2 separate regions of the Homo sapiens genome follow, and region 1 is linked to region 2. The links are contacts of gene promoters, found by promoter capture Hi-C in human tissues and cell types (Jung and others, 2019). All regions are on one chromosome and are shown on one strand. Each heading gives the region's core, a stretch centred on a gene start or on the middle of the fragment in contact. The rest is flanking DNA. Distances are from core to core; before and after follow the strand shown. Region 1 overlaps HACL2 (2-hydroxyacyl-CoA lyase 2). Region 2 holds the start of AKAP8 (A-kinase anchoring protein 8).

The links. Contacts are between HindIII fragments. The study calls those that stand out against the background at their distance.
Region 1: a contact is called between a fragment that was not itself captured here and the fragment with the promoter of AKAP8 in region 2, in 2 of the 25 tissues and cell types used here (adrenal gland and spleen).

What each region holds. Positions count from the first base shown.
Region 1 is chr19:15,119,462-15,122,161 of GRCh38, forward strand. HACL2 (2-hydroxyacyl-CoA lyase 2) reads right to left here. Exons shown (of 16, transcript NM_006844.5): 7 at 521-620; 8 at 1-54. Among named protein-coding and RNA genes, the nearest start is that of ILVBL-AS1, 3.3 kb to the right of the region's middle. The HindIII fragment of the contact is 6,371 bases long and covers 1-2,700 here.
Region 2 is chr19:15,378,471-15,381,170 of GRCh38, forward strand. It overlaps AKAP8 (A-kinase anchoring protein 8), which reads right to left and starts at 1,317. Exons shown (of 14, transcript NM_005858.4): 1 at 1,243-1,317. The coding sequence starts at 1,261. AKAP8L (A-kinase anchoring protein 8 like) reads right to left here. Exons shown (of 14, transcript NM_014371.4): 13 at 2,047-2,142; 14 at 1,580-1,960. The coding sequence ends at 1,652. RefSeq lists enhancers at 458-1,373, 1,308-1,602, 1,374-2,288 and silencers at 563-1,112, 1,453-1,942. The HindIII fragment of the contact is 19,214 bases long and covers 1-2,700 here.

The sequences.
Region 1 (2,700 bases), core at 98-2,597, 260 kb before region 2:
CAGCACCATCAGAGGCCTCTTGGCCCGGCTCAGGATCTCCACACAGCGCTGAACCTGGAGCGAGAGGTGGGGATCAAAGGGCTGTCTTTTTATTTATTTATTTTTTTGAGACACAGTTTCACTCTGTTGCCCAGGATAGAGTGTAATGGCATGATCTCAGCTCACTGCAGCCTCCACCTCCCAGGTTCAAACGATTCTCCCGCCTCAGCCTCCAGAGTAGCTGGGATTACAGGCGCGTGCCACCATGCCTGGCTAACTTTTGTATTTTCAGTAGAGACAGGGTTTCACCATGTTGGCCAGGCTAGTCTTGAACTCCTGGCCTCAAGTGATCCGCCTGCCTCGGCCTCCCTAAGTGTTGGGATTGCTGCTGTGAGCCACCGCGTCCAGCCAAAGGGCCGCCCTTGAGTCGCCATGAGCACCCAAGATTAAGGCCCCAGTACTGACTCAGGGAGAGGGTCAGGGGGCCCTCTCCCCTCAGGGAGAGGGTAGGGTCCTCAGACACAAAAGAGAGGCAATTCACCTGCTGCGGGGAAGCCTGGGGGATGTCCAGGGGCAGCGGTCCCTCGGGCTGAGGCTCCCAGGCTCCTGCAAAGAGGTTGGCCAGGTAATTCTCTAAATACCTGCAAAAGGGAGGGGGAAGAAACCAAGTTGCCAGAATTAACTAACTACAAGGATTCCAGGATCTGAGCAAGGAAAGGGGCCGGGAGAAAAGCCAGGAGCAAAGTGGCATGGGGACAGGGTGGATGAGTGACACCTCAGGGACAGACGAACCCTAGTGGCCAGGTCTTCAACTGCCTGTTTGCCCTCGGTAGCCTCTGGGGTCCACCCCAACTCCACGTAGCCCCCCAGAAGCAAGGAACGCAGGCTCAGCATGCCAGGATTAAGCCTGTGGGTCCAACAGATGTGAGCTCAAGTCCTGGCTCTGTCACTTCCTAGCTGTGCAACTTAGGGCAAGTGACTTCACCCTTCTGAGCTTCCACCTCTGTCAATGTAAATATGAACCTCCCTCCCCAGGTTCAAGGATCTGTCCACTTAGGACATGAGGCGCTTTGCATGGGAGTTCTGAACACTGTCCTCTCCTGCTTCAAACAGGGTCTTCTCGGTCTCCTTGCTCACTGGGCCCCAGGGCCCCAACTTTCCTGAAGGACCTGTGCAGGGCCCTGGAGACACAAAGATAGATCCTGCCCAGCCCTCCCCTCAGGGGGCGCTCTATCCAGCGAAAGACAGACACATGGGCATTGGCAGGAAACAGTCGGAGCTCAGAGTCAGAAGCCTCTGCTTTCACCGTTAAGGACAGGCCAAGACAGCACAGAAGCAGCCCAGGATGGAACCGTGGGAAGCCCCGCAAGTAAAGAAAAGGCAAGGGAGGCTGAGGCAGGAGGATTGCTCGAGGCCAGGAGTTCAAGGCTGTGGTGAGCTATGATCATACCACTGCACTCCAGCCTGGGTGATAGAGTGAGGCCCTGTCTCAAAACAAAACAAAACAAAAAAGGCAAGATAAGAGATAGCCTTGTGAGAGGCAGCCCAAGAGAGAGGGGCAAGGAGAACAAGGGGAGGGACTGACTGGGAAGCCAGGGGGCAAAGTGCATTAAGAATGAGGCTATATGACCAAAATGGTGAAACCTCATCTCTACTAAAAATACAAAAATTAGCTGGGTATGGTGGACTGCACCTGTATTCCCAGCTACTCCGGGGGCTGAGGCAGGAGAATCACTTGAACCCGGGAGGTGGAGGTTGCAGTGAGCCAAGATCGCACTACTGCGCTCCAACCTGGGGGACAAAGCGAGACTCCGTCTCAAAAAAAATAAAGAGGCCATAGAACAAAATCACTACTGCCTGAGCTGACCCTCAGGCGCTTCACACACATCCGGAGTACAGGAGCCTGACTACCTTGTCCACTGATGATGCCCCGTGCCTGTCCTGGAACCTGGCACATGGCTGCCGCTCGCTAAATGTATGGAAAGGAAGGGCCAAGGACAGGCAAAGGGAAGGGACTGAGGGGAAGGGAGAGAAGGAGGAAGAAGAGGAAGAGGAGGAGGAGAAGAAAGGAAAGGAAGAAGAAGAAGAGAAGAGGCCAGGCGCAGTGGCTCATGTCTGTAATGTTTGAGAGGCCGAGGAGGGTGGATCACTTGAGGTTAAGAGTTCAAGACCAGCCTGGCCAACATGATGAAACCTCGTCTCTACTAAAAATACAAGTATTAGCCAGGTGTGGTGGCGGGCGCCTGTAGTCCCAGCTACTCAGAAGGCTGAGGCAGGAAAATCACTTGAACCCAGGGGGAGGCGGAGGTTGCAGTGAGCCGAGATCACGCCACTGCACTCAAGCCTAGGCAACAGAACGAAGAATCTGTTTCAAAAAAAAAAAAAAAGAAAGAAAAGGACAAAGATGTGAGGGAAGGAAAGGAGGAGGAAGGAGAGGGCTCGAGTCTGGGCTCTGCCACTTTTTTTTTTTTTTTTGAGACGGAGTCTTGCTCTGTCACCCAGGCTGGAGTGCAGTAGCACGATCTTGGCTCACTGCAAGCTCCACCTCCTGGGTTCACGCCATTCTCCTGCCGCAGCCTCCCAAGTAGCTGGGACTACAGGCGCCCGCCACCACGCCCGGCTAATTTTTTTTTTTTTTGTATTTTTAGTAGAGATGGGGTTTCACCATGTTAGCCAGGATGGTCTCGATCTCCTGACCTCGTGATCTGCCCACCTCGGCCT
Region 2 (2,700 bases), core at 67-2,566:
AAAGAAGGAATACAATACCTGCAGAAAAGATCTGATGGGAAAGAAGGGAAAGAATGGTGAAATCTACCCAGGCTGCGGAAGACCAGGAGAGCCAGGCTGAGCCTTCGCTAGGACCCGGAAGACACCAAAGCACACCGCGCACGCTGCCGCCTCAGGACCGAAACCTCTCTCTGCAATTTCTGGTGCTGGGATACTTTTGCCCTGCCACTTCTCAAGATCGACAACTTCTCGAGCTCCTGCAGCCAGGATCAGACCACTAGCTTCTCTACAACCAGTCGAGCTCCACCCAGCATGTCCCAACTATCCCCTGTGGGCAAACTTTGCTCCCAAAAGGCTCTGATTCCAGAAGCAGGGAGCAGGCAGCTCGAGAAGATCGGCCCTACTGCAGGCCAAGCGCTAAATCCTAGTGGGGAAAGGACACGTTCCCTCCTGCACAGCCCCTCGGCCCCTCCAGGCCACCACAACAGACTGCCTAAAGGAGAACTGCCAATGTCACCAGCCCCAGGGCACATCAGGTTTCCAGCTTTATACGAACACTCAGCATCTGCCCCTCACCATCCTGTCCCAAGCCAGCACGCGCCGGGTACAGAGCTGGAGCCCGGCGAGGCTGACTCTCGCGCCGGCAGCACTCGGCCCCACCGCGCTGCACCGGGGACTAAAGGCCCGACCCCGCGCAGCCCGACGGCTTCCGGGACAGGCGCCCTGGGCCACGTGAGCCCAGCGGAGACCCTACACGGCCCCGCGGGCCTAGGGCAGGTCGGGAGAGAGGCGGCCCCCGCGGTCCGCCCGCGGCCCCAGACCCAGCTCCCCGGGTCCGACCTCACAACCCCACGCTGTAGCTCCGCCCCCCTAGCGCCGCCATTTTGTGGCGTCTTCGGAAGAGGAAGCCGGGAGTGCAAACCCCGGGGTCGCTGGGGGCCGGAAGGACTCCGCCGAAGGTGAGGGGCAAAAACGGCCCACACTGTCTAAGACGCCCCCACGAAGCCCACCGCGGCGTCTGCCCCAACCCCGAGTCCCGCCCGCCTCCTCGGGGCCTGGCGGCCAATCCGCACGCAGAGCCCCGGGAGCGACGGCGCCAAAGCCCAATGAGCGGCGCGCGCGCGCCCTGGCCGCCTCTCCGGAGGGCCCAGCTGGGGCAACCACGCTCGGGACGAAGGCCCGGCCGGCGGCAGTCTGCGCAGCGGCTGCGTCGCCCGCACAGAGCCTTCCCTCCCCGCTCCGCACCCAGCAGCCAACACAAACCTCCGTAGCCCTGGTCCATGTCTTCGACGCGGCCCACCAGCAGCCCCGTTTACTAGGCGACCACAGCACGCATGCGTTCAGCGCACCTCCGCCATCGACTACTGGAAGACCAGGCGCACACGTCACTACTTCCGCGCGCCCCCATTGGCTGGTCTTCACGAGGGCCCGCCCTCGCCGTCCCAGCTGGCCTTTCGGGCTGCTACGATCCAGCTCCGTGGCCTAATGGGAGTTGTGGTCCCACCGCGGTGCCCGACGGCCCGGCCCGCGCGCATGCGCACCCCGCCCCTCTGCCCACCCCGCCCCGCCCGCGCGGCACAGTAACAGAGAAACCCGGAGGTGGGATGGGAAAACTTTATTAGGTTTGGTTTCCAGCTTCGGCCACGCGGGCTCCGCCCGCCCCGAGCTCGGGTCACGGGGCGCCCCCGCCGCCCTCCTCGTCGTCCTCCACGTCGAGGCCCGGGATGCCGCGGATCTGGCGTTGCAGCGCCCCTCCCAGCAAGGGCACGGCGCCCTCCTCCTCCTCCTCTGGGGGCGGCGGCGGTGGCGGCGACACGGCCCCGGGGGCTGGCTCTGGGGGCACGGGAGGCTGCGCCGGCACGCCCTCTGCGCCCTCCGAGATCCCTGCCGCTTCGCCCTGCGCCCCCTCGTCCAGGGCACCGCCCTCAGCCTCCTCCTGCTCCTTCTCCTCCTCGGGGCTGTCGGTGAAAGGGTTCTCGCCCTGTGGGGAGGGGCGCGGACACTGAAGGGAGGGAGCACAGGCGGGGACTAAGCTGGGGACAGGGCAGGCCCGGACCAGTGCCTCACCTTCAGGTAGCGCTCCAGCTTCTTGCTGATGAGCTTGTTGTTGAGAATACTGCGGGCCACCATGAGGGAGGACTTCTTGGACTGCTCCATCATGAGCTGCGGGCAGGGCAGAAGGAGCTGGAGAGGCTGCTCTGAGTGCCCTACAAGTTGCTGCCCCGACCCTGCCAGCTTAGAGGGACCCCACCCCGCCCCTGCACCCACGCACTTCCAGCCCCACCAACGGAGGGCCACTCCACAAGCATGGAACCACAACCTATCTGATCTTTGTTCAAATTCCCTCTCCTTCCACACCACACTTACTGTAGGTAAATAAAAATACAGATCTATATATCTCTAACTTTACGGCTGTATTACAGAAATCTGATTTGCTTACAAAAAAGCTATAAGCAGTGAACAATTAAGAAACTAAGAGCCAAAGGTGGGTGCAACCTGTAACAAGGTGCCAACTAGGCTAATAGGCAAGGAGCACTTTGGGGCCAACGGGGAAGATATAAAAACAGGAACAGATATTTAATGAAACGTCTTTTTTAACCCACAGAATTCCAAGAATGAAGAATTATTCCCAGTCATGCAAGGGTGAAGAGAGTCTTCTCTGCTGGTGGGAGGATCAACTGTTTCCGTATTTTTTGGAAAGCAGTTTGACACAATGTATGA